Regions from separate parts of the Homo sapiens genome. Here regions 1 and 2 are each linked to region 3. Evidence: promoter capture Hi-C in human tissues and cell types (Jung and others, 2019). All regions are on one chromosome and are shown on one strand. The core of a region is centred on a gene start or on the middle of the fragment in contact, and the rest is flanking DNA. Distances in the headings are between cores, read along the strand shown.

What was found. Contacts are between HindIII fragments. The study calls those that stand out against the background at their distance.
Region 1: a fragment that was not itself captured here is called in contact with the fragment with the promoter of TMEM121 in region 3 in 1 of the 25 tissues and cell types used here (lymphoblastoid cells).
Region 2: a contact is called between a fragment that was not itself captured here and the fragment with the promoter of TMEM121 in region 3, in 1 of the 25 tissues and cell types used here (H1 embryonic stem cells).

What each region holds. Positions count from the first base shown.
Region 1 is chr14:105,980,733-105,985,198 of GRCh38, forward strand. It overlaps IGH. Among named protein-coding and RNA genes, the nearest start is that of FAM30A, 65 kb to the left of the region's middle. RefSeq lists an enhancer at 1-298. The HindIII fragment of the contact is 7,810 bases long and covers 1-4,466 here.
Region 2 is chr14:105,831,408-105,836,140 of GRCh38, forward strand. It overlaps IGH. Among named protein-coding and RNA genes, the nearest start is that of MIR4539, 24 kb to the right of the region's middle. The HindIII fragment of the contact is 5,609 bases long and covers 1-4,733 here.
Region 3 is chr14:105,523,277-105,528,044 of GRCh38, forward strand. It overlaps TMEM121 (transmembrane protein 121), which reads left to right and starts at 3,307. Exons shown (of 2, transcript NM_025268.4): 1 at 3,307-3,377. The HindIII fragment of the contact is 20,488 bases long and covers 1-4,768 here.

The DNA.
Region 1 (4,466 bases), core at 1,398-3,897, 460 kb after region 3:
GAGAATTTGAGAACTAGGAACAGTGAAACTCCTGTATGTTCAGCAGCTCCCAAAGCAACACAATATTCCCCAGGAACACTGTTCTGTCCTCCAGCATAATTCATGCTTGTGTATTTCCTAATGGCTCCAATAGTGACCCTCCATTCCCACCAAACATTTGGCCTCCCCTCTCTCCACTTCCCCTCCATTCATACATTACACTCTCAGCTCTGTCTAGGGTGTCATAAAAGCCAGCGGACGGACCCTCCTGATCTCCTGAACATGAAAGCCAGCACTATCATGTGATGGGCTCCTCTTGGCATGGTGACCTTCAAAGGCACCTCATTTAAATAATCACCTTTTTTTTCCTTCTGTAACAAAGTGTTTCTTTCCATTGTGCCTTCCCATAAGCAGTTTAACATAATTTACTGTCCGACCACAGTTATTAATACACACAAATGCCACAACCTCTTTCTAGCCCAAGAGACCTGATTAATTCTTCTTTGGGGATGAGCACACCCTAGAAACACATCCCATTCACATAAACACGGGCACACCGATGACGTGTTCTTGAGTCTACACCATTCTCCGTCCAACTCCATGAGCCCCTGAAGACCAAGACAGGCTCTTTCACACCTGTGCAAGCTCCGGCCCAGGGACGGCCTGCTGAGGAATGGGCTCAGCTGGGTCTGGGTGCTGGGTTCATCTCTTCCCCTCTCCTGTCCCAAAGCAGGTCCATCACCCTGCTCAGGTCTGAACAGGAGTGTCTAGGTTTTTCTGGCCATCCGACTTTTTCAATGTATAGAAGCTCTCCTATTACCTACTGTATTCATTTTATAGGGCTTTTATAACGAAATACCACAGATCGGATGGCTTACAATACAAAACCAATTTCCTCACACTTATGGAGGATGAAAGCCTAAGATCAAGCTGCCAGCTGGGTGGGTTTCCTCTGAGGTCTCGCTCCCTGGCATGCAGATGGCGCCTTCTCACTGTTCTGTGGTAACATGGCCGTCCCTCGGGGCCTGTGCACCCTCCCTCCTGCTTCCTCTTCTTATAACAACAGTCAGATTGCATTAGGGCCCCACTCCAGGAATCTCACTTTAACTTATTCACCTCTTTAAAGGACACTAATCCAAGTATGATTTCATTCTGAAGGACCAAGGGTTGGGACTTCAGCACATGAATTTAGGAGGGACACAGTCTCCCCTAGCAGCCTCCTTCAGGGATGTCAAATAAAAGGAATAAAAGGACACTGATGCTCCAGAAGGCCTTGAGAGTTTGCAGCTGCTTTGTTGTGGTGGGACGTGGGTAGGCCTGCACCTTATCTATGATGGCAGATGGAATGACTTTAGTTTTACCCAACCAGATGACACCAACTATTTGACTGATAAGCCTGGACCCTGGATTTTGTCTGTATTAACCTCCCATCCTCTATTCAGCAAGTGAGACAGCAAGACAGGGGCTGTAATTTATAAGCTGAAAAAAGACTCAGAGGTTATCATGATAACACCAATGTAGTGGAAAACATGTATCCCCTTTGGGTCAGCCCATCGACTGAGGTTGGAGGTCACTAGGCTGTGAGATTTGGGCTGTGTAAATATCCCTGGAACAAGACAGTAAAAGTCCATTGTTCTTTTTAGGTTAATGCAAATTGATCTTGACTCTGGGGCAACAGAAATGCTGAAGAAGGTATTGACTAAACTGATAAGGAAATGCTACGTGGCTAACACCTCTCCTATTCTCGTCAGACTGGAGGAGATATTAGGAACAGCTGCATTCACTCGGGAGACCACCTTATTTAACTCCCAGTAATCTACTGTCATTCTCCATGTCTCAACTGGCCTCTGCATGGGCCATGCAGGTCTGTTGTAGGAACCATGCAGTGGCCTCCTAATGCCTACCTGGGCTAGCTCCTTAACAATCTTCATGATTGGATCATCTTCCCCTCCCAGGGCAGGTGGTGTTGCTCCAGCTGTGGGACTCCCCATGGGTTGGCAGCTCTACTGGCATCCAGTTTGCCTTCTGCTTGGTCACACACATCACCACTCTAACTCTCCGTTGGAATTCCCTGGCCGTTGTTTGGAGGGTCACGCCTAAGAAGATATCCATTCTCATGTGTTCTAGGATGGAAGCTGTGTATACTACACAGGGTCTGGGTGGCAGTCCCCCAGGTCGTATCACTAGTTCAACCGGTCTGACTTCCGTGGCCCTTCCATAACCACCTATTGCCGCTATGGGCCCAGAGAACTGGTAGGTGTTGCCAGTTAGAGCACATTCGTTGTCTGGCCACCCTGACTGGCTCCTTGGCTGTCTCTCTTCCTTTGGTGCCATTGTTCTTCATCACAGTAGGGTGCATCCCTTGCTTACTCAGTTTCTTCTTTTCTCCTAAGTCAGCAACTACCTGGGGCACATGAAATGTTGGCTGCCCTCCCAGGGGGCTTAACATGGAAATCAGTGCACCATGCCATTGGGTAGGCACTGAATACATAACTGTAGCTTTTATTTTGCAGTAAACAATTCATTGTTGGGACTTCAATAATTCTCAGCATAATTAGCATGCCTCATCTCGACTCCCAGAAGATATCCTGCAACTCTTCTATAGTCTGCCATTGAGAACGAGCTGTGGGGGCATCTTCCTCATTGGACCCGGCCCCCTTGGAGCCTGCAACCACTTACCATAAAGGTGCCATCATAGGGCTGGATGGTTTGTGATGGGTGTCATTTTACTCATCTTGAGTCCAGAGAGTATAATACTCTCCACCCCCTATCCCATAGAGAAGCCACCCTGTGATCCACTCTCTCCCCTTGTGTCTGAATCCAATTCTAAGCTCCCCCAATTCCACAGTGGTGGAATTCCGCATTGTGGTGCACTGCCTTCTCTTAGGTGGGGGAAAGTTCTGTGGGGCTAACTTCTGCTGGCACAGTTGGCCCACTTTTATGTTGGTGGTGACCACCACAAGTACCATTTGGCTACAGACTGTGTCCTGGCATTCCAAGGCTTTTGTGTCTGGAAGGCATCCTTTAGCCAGCCTGCTAAAGGTTGTTCCGGATGTGGAGTGGCCCTCTTTGTCACATCCTACACTCGTAAGGCATGACATGTAGTGCAGTTGCTACTCCTAAACAGTATATCTCACTTCAGCTTCCTTCTGTCTTTGAGACCAGGGTCTTAGGGACACACACTTATGTCCTTGCCTTTAACACAGTCCCCACCTAAACCCCTCAGGGTAACTGACTACATCCAATTCACAGGGCTGTCCCTGCACTAGAACTCCCAAGGTTTGTATTCATTTCACTGTGACTTCAGCTTCTTCAGAGCCCTCATCCTCCCTTTTGGAACAGTCGCAGTGGGGCACCTTCTTGTCTAAGTGCCATGGGGGCCCAAGGGGTTTGCCGAAATGGGGAATAAAGGATCGCCAATGTCCCAGGAGGCCTTGGGAGGTTTCCAACTGCTTTGGTGTGGTGGGACATGAGTAGACCTGCATCTTATCTTATCTATGATGAAATATGGAATAACTATAGTCTTATGTAACCAGATGACACCAAGTATTTGACTGATAAGCCTGGACCCTGGACTTTGTCCGCATTGACCTCCCATCCTCTGTTCACCAAGTGAGACAGCAAAGCAGGGGCTGCAGAGCAAGAACCTTTATGGACTCATCCTAACCTTCATCTCCTTCCCACTGGAGCTCTACATCGGACGCCAGGACTTAGGCTCCCAGGATGACGTAGTCATAGTAGTCCTAATGCATTGGTGTGGCAGTCAGCAACACTTTAAATGGCCTACCAAATAAACAATAGTCTCCAATTTGCTATCCTATCCCTACAGGCGGCATCTCATTATAGTTACAACTGTTCTCGTGGCTGACACACCCTAGCCTGTGCAATGAGCTCTGCCTCAGTGGTTGCTCAGAGTGCAGTCAGGAGTGGCCAACAGCTGCCACAGCTCAGGAATCTGACTGTCACTTTGTCACATTGTCACATCCACCTCAGGCAACAGGTCCTCCAGAACTTTTGGCATTTTGGAGGCATCCCCGTACACATGCAGCGGGCCCCATCCATCAAGGATTGCAGCTGTTGGGCCCACAGAGATGTGCATGGCCTGCCTGGGATTTCCTCACAGGTCTCCCCTTCCTTGACGCTGTTGTCTAAGAGCTTGCAGGATTTTCTTTGACCTTGTTCTGGGCCTACCAGTTGTCATGCTAGACCCCTATTGACTGTAATAGGCGTGGCACCATGTCCAAAAGGCTGAAGAGGAGACCTGGAGCCCATGAACAAGACCTAGGGTGTATTGAGGACTTGCATACAATGTGGCCCAGGAAAAGTGTGTTGGACAGGAAAACCACTACCATTTGTAAAACACATGTAGTTTATATTATGATTTTCACTTAGCACCCTCTACCTAGCAACCTCCAGATTTAACAAAGAGCATCAATCACCTGGACATCCTGTGTTCCAAGGGATAGGCCAGGGATTCAGATGTCCTT
Region 2 (4,733 bases), core at 948-3,447, 310 kb after region 3:
CGGAATGTTCTGTGGTTTATTGAAACAATTTCCCACTGATGGGCATTTAGTTTGTTTTCAGGTCTTTATGCTGCAAAGCATATTATTGTCCATATACCTTAAAGTTACTTGATCAACTCTATTTGTAGATTAAATTCAGTTCCACATGGCTGGAGAGGCCTTGGGAAACACAGTCGTGGTGGAAGGGGAGCAGGTACGTCTTACGTGGGGGCAGATGAGAGTGGTTCTTTTCCATCTTGTTTTTACTTTTTTCCTAAATCTGTGCTTTGAAACAACCTTTAAACAAACTCCAAATTAGATAAATTTTTTTTTGCAGTAAAATAAATTATAAATGCCTGTCTTATAGTTTTTAAAAATGAAAAACACATCTTATTTTTTGTGGTATACTTTGTAGACAGAATTATATATATTAATTAGAATTTTAACTCTTAGTAACCTTATTTTCTAGCAAGCAAATTTTAACCATTTGTCACATATCACTATTTTATAGATGAGAAAAATTTTATAATTTTTGAAAACATATTTCTATGACATAATTTTTACATATATTAATAGACCCAAATAAATTTAGTCTTTCTACAAAATTTCTATAAAATTTAAGAAGCCAAGAACAAACATTTATGTTCAGTAATTTGTGTTAGTTTTAAAAATCTTATTTGGAAATGACCCAGACATTTAATGAGTATCTATTATTTAACTGAAGATAACATAATTTTAAGATCTTAAATTACATAAGAAGCTTATTTATAAACATTTATTTTCTTGACATTTATCTTATTTATTTATTTATTTTAGTGATGGGGGTCTTGTTGCATCGCTCAGGGTGGTCTGAACTTCCGGGCTCAAGCAATCCTCCCACCTCAGCCTCCTGAGTAGCTAGGACTATAGGCGTGTGCCATGACACCAGGCTTAATTAATTTATTTTTAATAATTTACCTAGATTACTTATGAAAATTGAGATATTAGACAAAGCTAGCCATTACTTAAAGTTATTTCCCTTTTAACCATTTTTATAGCCTGTGATTATTAGATGTTCACTTAGTAAGAAACTTAGTGAAGTGTATGGGTATTTTGTCGATAGCTCATAAGATACAGCTGTTTTTATTAAGCCTGCAATATTAAATTAGCCTTTTTTTTTTTTTTTGAGATGGAGTCTCGCTGTTGCCTAGGCTGGAGTGCAGTGGCGCTCTCTTGGCTCATTGCAACCTCTGCCTCCCGGGTTCCAGTGACTTTCCTGCCTCAGGCTCCCAAGTAGCTGGGATTATGCCCACCACCACACCTGGCTAATTTTGTACTTTTAGTAGGGATGGGGTTTTGCTGTGTTGGCCAGGCTGGTCTCAAAGTCCTGACCTCTAGTCATCTGCCCACCTTGGCCTCCCAAAGTGCTGGAATTACAGGCATGAACCACCGCACTCAGCCAAATTAGTCTTATTTATCAAAGATCATACAAAGATTATTCTGTTTTAGGATGGGTTTATAGTTTTATCATCTTTGTGTCAAACCCTGACATCTTAAAACATCTATCAGAGACAAATATAAAGCTGTCTGACGAGTAAACTCAGGGAAAAATATATGCTGACAATTCTGAGAACATTTGTATTTTTATTTTACCAACAATTTTAAAACTGATTTGTTTATTAAAGATATACTTAAGTCACATGAACTAAAAGGCATTTGGGTTAATTAGTACATATTTTTTATGAATGCTTATTTATCTAAGCCAATCTAAATAGAATCCCTTAATAGATTTTTTGTTGATGATGCCAGATTTTACCATGTAGATAACAACATACAACATAATACACATACATATGCATAAACACAATTAACCACATACGCACACAAATAAAGACACTGTAGCTTTCATTTTAGAATTTTGGTCATGAGATAATAACACAAATGTGTCAGTTTCTAAAAGACACTTCAATCCAAATTATATTTTTGACAAAACTGGGACTTGTTCACAAGCTAAACTTTATTTGTCCTGATGGGTCGTCTAATGAGGGCCATGGATCAGAATTTTGGGTAAAGCAGTTTCTGCATTAGTTTGATTTCAAAAGACCTTTTTCAGTTTTAAATGAATTTAAGGTTAAATTTCCAGTGATTGCGTTTTAGCTAGGACTGGCTGAATTGTATATGAAAAACAAAATCTTCAACTCGTCTATACTAGTAACAAATCTATTTTTTGGTTGCTGGTCTGATTTTCTGGACTAGACAATGCATGCAGGGAAGCATTTAGCAGTGTTTTTCCTTTTTCTGGCACCTGTGGCAAAGCAAAATTTTTATGGCAGACAGAGATACCTTATATTACTGCTCTAAGCTCAAGATTTTGGCCTGTTCGATCTGAAAGCCCAATTTCTGTAAATATTTACCTAGTTCTGTTCTTTGAGACCATCAGTCCTTCAGTTAGCTATTCCATCAGCCTAAGCAGTTGTTAGCCAAGCAAAGCTAATCTACATTTTCAAAAGAAATGACTCTTACATCTAGGTCATTGGTTACCATAGAGCTGTTGTAATTTGTAAAGCCACTAATTTAAAACCTTTAGGAAACTTTAAAAAATCTTGGGCCAGGCACGGTGGCACACGCCTATAGTTTTAGCACTTTGGGAGGCCAAGGCAGGTGGATCACTTGAGGTCAGGAGTTCAAGACGAGCTTGGCCAACACAGTGAAAGCCTGTCTCTACTAAAATACAAAAATTAGCTGGGCATGGTGGCGGGCACCTGTAATCAGCTACTCAGGAGGCTGAGGCAGGAGAATCACTTGAACCCGAGAGGCAGAGGTTGCAGCGACCCAAGATAGCGCCACTGCATTCCAGCCTGGGTGACAGAGTGAGACTCCATCTAAAAAAACAAAAAACAAAAAACAAACAAACAAAAAACCAAAAATATCTTGGCTGGAATGCTGTAACCAGTGAGTTTTATTGCAACATGAGTAAAAAAGTCAGCAGATTTAAAGTAGGCAGAAAAACAAAATAGAGAGATAGAGGACTTAGGAGGCACTGCATGATGACTACTGTTGCAGGGTTTTTGTTAGAGTTCGAAAAATAACCATTGGAACTCTAAATTTTCCTTGACGTAATTTGCCCATTAGTTTAAAAATGTGCACAAAGACGTAGCCAGCGGGAGTTCCAGAAAACTTACTGTGCCTTAATATTTAAAAACCATTCCCCTTCTTATTAATCTTTTTACAGTAAAGAACATTCTACAGATACTATGAGGCCACGCCGGCAGTTTGGACTGGTGCTTTAGACGGTGGTGACTGCTGTAGCAGCTTCTAATGAGACAGCCTGTGCCCACCATTTAGAATGTTTATTTTGCTCTCCAAAGATTTTTAGAAGCAAGCAGAGGAAAAGAGCCAGGTCATTTACAGATACACATAACCACAGCAAAAGAAGGCAAGATAAGGGTGCTCACAAATATGTTCACCCAGGCATGCATATCCAACAAAGTATTAAAGGAGGCACCTCACCAGAGAAGACATCCCTCAGAGACAGAATGCAAACTCTGTGGAAACCAGAGTACTCAGGCTGGAATGTCTTTATGCTAAACAGGACTTGCCAGAAAGCACGAAAAGCCTTTTATCATCCCAGGAGGGACATAAGGTCCTTTATTAAGGCAGTCTAATAAACAAACCCCACATAATATTAAAAAAGCATCTTCCAAAAAGAGGGAGGGTTGGCCTGAGAGAAGACGGAGTAGCTCAGAAAAAGCTGAGAGCTCAAAGGGCTCAAGTGAATACTGCACACCGGCCCAAGAATTACTGACTCCTTCCAGCAGTGATCCTTCTCCACATCCCACTTCTGACTCCATGTATCTCAATCTAAATAACAAGAGAAATGCCGTCTAAAAGAAAAAGATATCTATTTGGAGGTAGAGCACTGCAGTGGGATACACCTGCCATGATCAGCTATGTGCGTATTCAGGGAGGCAAAGGGAGACCAAGGCTTTCAAAGGAAAAATGAGGAGGATTACATGATTGCTTTGAGATAATTACCCTCTCTACAAGGACCAATAACAAAGGCAATGCCAGTCTGAGGTTGGACAGCCCGTTGCTGGGAAGATGTCCTCACAGAAGTACTTTCTGTGTAAGGTTGTGATGGTCTTTGTGCCAGTTGCAGTTTTTGTAGAGTCCTTGGTGATAGTTTTTGTTATCAAGTGTTTATGGATGAGAACCCTCTTCTCTTCTTGGCCTTCCTAGGCTCTATTTGTCAGGGATTTAGAAAAAAAAAAAACCACAGGTGACTCAATTTTGATTCTGATGACTTCCACATACTACAGACGTGGTGGCTGAGAAACAACAGAAACTTATTTCCCACCATTCTGGAGGCTGAATGTCCCAGACCAAGGCTCCAGCCGATGGGTGTCTGGTGAGGCCTGCATCCCAGCTCATAGACGGCATCTCCTCACAGGGGAGAAAGGGTGAGGGAGCTCTCTGGGGCCCCTCTCATAAGGGTGCTAATCCTCTTCATGAGGGCCCCCCTTTTATGACCTCAGCACCCCCAAAAGCCCCATCTTCTAATACCATTACATTGGAGGTTAGGATTTCAGGGGGAAAGGTATGAATATACGAATGTATGAATTTCAGGAGGACACAAATGTTCAGCCCACAGCAGATGATAACAGGAGGTCCGACCAATACCTGGGTCCTTGCTGAGCCCCTTTCAGATAGGATTTTACTCACTTCTCACCTCACTCTACTTGACAGGTGTATTTTCACCCCATTCTGATGAGGAA
Region 3 (4,768 bases), core at 2,057-4,556:
GAGAATTGGTATCTTAACTATATTTGTTCTAATTCAGGAACACAGCATGCCTCTCACATATTTAGGCCTTCTTTGATTTCTTTTATCAGCATTTGGTAGTTTTCAGTATACAAATCCTGTACCAGTCTTGTTAGATTAATACCAAACGAATAAATTTACTGGGGGACCATTTTAAATAGCATTGCTTTTAAAAATTTTGGTTTTCAATTGTTCATTGCTAATATATAGAAACAGGACTGAGTTCTGTGTTTTCATCCTGCAACCTTGCAAAACTCACTTATTAGTATTCTGACTTTTTTGTTGGTAAAATTCTTGGGATTTTCGACATAGACTTTTATGTTATTTATGGATAGGGACATCTTTATTTCTTCCTTTCTAATCTGTATGCCTTTTATTTTTCTGGTTTTATTGCATGGGTTAGGACTGCCAGTACACTGTGGAACAGGAGTGAATAGAGTGGACATCTTTACCTTGTTCCTGATCTTAGGGCTCAGCATTTAGTCCTTCATTATTAAGTATCACATTAGATGCAGAGGTTTTTTTTTTTTTTTTTTTTCTTTTTTGGACAGGGTCTTCCTCTGTTGCCCACACTGGAGTGCAGTGGTGCGATCTTAGTTCACTGCAACCTCTGCCTCCCAAGTTCAAGCGATTCTCATGCCTCAGCCTCCTGAGTAGCTGGGATTACAGGTGTGTGTCACTGTACCCTGCTAATGTGTGTGTGTGTGTGTGTGTGTTTTAAGTAGAGATGGTGTTTCGCCATGTTGCCCAGGCTGGCATAGAACTCCTGAGCTCAGGTGATCTGCCTGCCTTGGCCTCCCAAAGTGCTGGGATTACAGGCGTGAGCCACCACATCCGGCCAGATTGTTTTGTATTTTTTGTAGAGACAGGGTTTCACCATGTTTCCCAGGCTGGTCTTGAACTCAAGCTCAAGCAATCCGCCCACTTTGGCCTCCCAAAATGCTGGTATTAGAGGCATGAGCCACAGTGCCTGGCCTAATTTTTTTTTTAATTAAAAATAACAGATATGGAATCTCTCCATGTTGCCCGGGCTGGTCTTGAACTCCTGGCCTCCCAAAATGTTGAGATTGCAGGGGTGAGCCACCATGCCTGGCCTGTTGTTTTTGTTGTTGCTTTTTGTAGATTCCTTTTATGAGATTAAGCATGTTCCCTTTGCTTTCTAGTTTGCTGAGAGTGTTTATCAGGGATGAGTGTTGAATTCCGTCAAATACTTTCTTTGAATTGATTGAGATGATCACATGGTTTTCTTCTTGAGACTAATATGGTGGATCACATCGATTTATTTTCACATGTTGAACCAGCCTTGCCTTTCTGGGATAGCCTCCATTTGGTTGGGGTATTTGTGTGTGTGTGTTTTTAATGCTGCTTGATTCTATTTGCTGATAATTAGTTGAGGGTTTTTGTGTCATGTTGGCATTGGCGGCTGTTGATTGTCTTTTCTCTTGCAGGTTGGATTTCCTGATTCTTCACATGCAGAGTAATTTTAGATTGTCTCCTGCACATTTAGACATTATGTTATGAGACTGGTCTTATTTAAATCCCATTGAGAATGTTGGCATTTTGTTTTATCATGCAATCAACCTAGTTGGTTTCAGGCCACAAGTTCAAATAGGCTCCTGTGGGTCCTGCCTTCCATGTCGGTTTTGTTTTCAAAGCCTTTGCAGTGGGACTCAGATCTGTCCTTCGTATGCACTGCCCAGTGGCCAGTGTGGGACGTGGGCAGTGGGCTGTCCTTTTGTTCAGTTCTCAGCCTTTGGGATGTGAATGAGGGTTTAGACTTGTACATCATGTATGGCTTGCACAACTTCCTGGGGTTGCTTTTTTTTTTTTTTTTTTTTTGAGACAGAGTCTCACTCTGTTGCCCAGGCTGGAGTGCAGTGGCAAGATCTCGGCTCACTGCAACCTCCATCTCCCGGACTCAAGCAATTCTCCTGCTTCAGCCTCCCGAGTAGCTGGGATTACAGGTGTGTGCCACCACGCCCGGCTAATTTTTATATTTTTAGTAGAGATGGGGGTTTCACCATGTTGGCCAGGCTGGTCTCGAACTCCCGACCTCAGGTAATCCGCCCACATCGGCCTCCCAAAGTGCTGGAATTACAGGTGTGAGCCACCACGCCCAGCCCATGGATTGCTTTCTACTGCTTCTCCCTGCCCACCATCTCTCCAGCGACAGGGGACCACATCTCCTGGGGCTGGAAAGGAAGGCTCTTCTGCCTCAGCGTTTTAGGTGCTTGTAAACCCTATGCCTTGGTCATGGCTTTGGTGGGATACCTAGGGGCTGGGGCATCAGAGAATGGAGAAGAGTAAAAAAACAACCACTACCAAAAAACCCCATCCTCCCAAACCCTAACATCCCCCCGGGCATTCTCCTGCACCCTGGGAGCATTAGGCGACCTTTTTCTTTCCTCCCCTTGTGCCAGGACTAGAGAACTTCTGGAGCTCTCTGTCCTCTTCTGGCTTTCAGGCCGTGTTGAGTCCAGGCCCGGGGATACGGGAAGAGAATCTGGAAGTTCACTACCAGTTGGGTGGTGCCTCAAATTCTGGTCTTTCCACCAAATCTGGTGTCCCTTTACCTCTCTGACCCTCAGTCTCCTCCTATGTCAGAGGGAAGTCACAGCAGTTCTGGGAAGGAGGGCAGGCAGGCAGAAGGTGCCCTCGGGTTCTTCTCTGGCTCACACGGGATGGACAGGATGTGGGGGGAGGGGCTTAGTGCCACCTCAGTGACAAAATGAAGCCCAAGTCCCCAAACCCTAGCTTGCCTCCTGGACGGGCTGGAGAAGAAGGTGGGGGCCGCTCATCATTCCTTTCCTCTGCCCTGAGAAGAAACCTGGGAAGGCTGGGTTTCTCCCCAAAGAGGACAGAGGGTGGCGCGGAGGGCCCCGGCGGCCAGGCCAGCCCCGCGCCTACATCCCTGTCAGCTCCTGGGCCGGTGGGCGCCTGTCCGGCTGAGTGGGGTCGCTCTAGGGGGCGGCAGCGGAGTTTCAGGGCGCGGGGGGCACTGGGCGGGACCCTGGGATTCTGGGCGGTGGGTGAGGAGGGTGGAGACGGGACTCCGCGCCTGGGGGTGCGCGAGGGCGCCCCGCTCCCCAGAGCCACCAGTCCTGCGCGCCGCCGCGCGGTGCTGTCGCCGTGGCAACCGGCGCTGCGGAGGGGGCGGGGCACCGGCACCCCCGCGCTCCCAGGTCCCCAGGTCCGGCGGGGCTCGCGGGCCGAGGGGCGCGGGGCGGGGCCTCTGGGTCGGGGGCGGTGCCGCGCGGGCGGGGGAGGGGCGCGGCGGGAGGAGCCGGCGCGGCCCCGGCAGTGGCGGCAGAGGCTGGGCGGGCGGGCCCGGGAGCGGCGCAGCATCTGCGGGCGGCGGGGTAGGCGCGGGCGCGGGCGGGACTGGCTGGGTGCGCGGCTGCGTCCGCGGAGGGGGCGGCGGGCCTGGGCGACCCTGCACCTCTGGGCCGTGGGGACTGTGGGGTGGGGCGGGGGCCGATGCGGCAGGGGTGAGGCCTGGGGCCGGCGGGGTGACGGGGACCCGGCCCTGCGTGGGGAAGCCTCGGGGGGACAAGCAGAGACGCAGCCTGCTGGGAGCGGCCCAAGCTCTGCACCGGCCCGCGGCGGGAGCACAGCAGCCCCCTCCCGCCCCTCCTCCCGGGGGCTCCGAGGGGTGGTTATGGGGCGAGGGTCCTTGCGGGGCCCGGGCAGTGAAGGGCCTGGAGGCCCCAGAGTCTGTGCCAGGTCTGAGCCGCGGGGCGTGGGGGGAGGAGGGGCCTCGGCCGGGGCCCAGGAGACCCAGGACAGGTGGGCCTGGGGCCAGGTCCCTACGGAGAGGTGGCCGGGCCGGGCTCTGGCTTGCCGGGGTAGGGGCTCCGCTAGGGGCTGGAGTCCGTCCCTTCGCCAGCGCAGAGCCCCTCGGCCCGCATCTGCCAAGTGACTGAGGATCGAGCGACAGCGTAGTGGGGCGGAGGGGCTGGAGGCACGGCCGGAAAGGGTGAGCGGCGCCGTGGCTCCCCCGCTATTTATTTGGCCCCGCCACGCGCGGAGAGGGAGGAAATTCTCAGGCTGCGGCTGCAGCTAGGGGAGGCCCAGGTGGGCCTGGAATGGGCCCAGAGAGGGCTTCCTGGGTCAGACGTGTAGATCCAGTGGACGTGAAAACCGGGTGAGTGTCCCGGTGGGACCCAGAGCGCGGGGAGGCTTGGAGGCAGGGGCATGGGCTGAGGACCCTCAAGGCACCCTCCTCGCGACCTGTCAGAGCTCCGAGGGGTGGGGGTGTCCTGTGTGTGGCTGTGGGGATCCTGGGCGGCGGGTGCTGGGTGGGGGCAGGGGTGGGAGTGCAGAGTTCAACGCTTTCCCGGATCGGTGGGGCCTGCGGTGTCACCAGGGCAGTCCGAGCGCCCGACTGTCACGGGGACATTAAATTTTATGCCTTTGTCTAGACACGGCAGTAAACGGAGCCCCAGGCCTGGGGCTGTGGAGGGGGTGAGGGGCTGGCTGGGAGTAAGCCTGTCAGTGACTTTGGGGTGGGTGCGGGTGTGCGGGCCTCCATTGTCACCCAGGTGTGCACAGGCCCAGGTGCGGGGACTCCGACAGCACGGCCATGAGGACCAGTGCCAGGTGTGTGACAGAGGTGCAGGGGCCTGTGGAAGCCCGACGGGCCTTGGTGGACGGGCTTCCCGAGATTCGAGGGCAGCCACAGGCATCGCCCTGGCGCAGAGGAGCAAAGCAGGGTGGCTCTGCCGGGGCAGAGGGTGGGGGACAACACCTC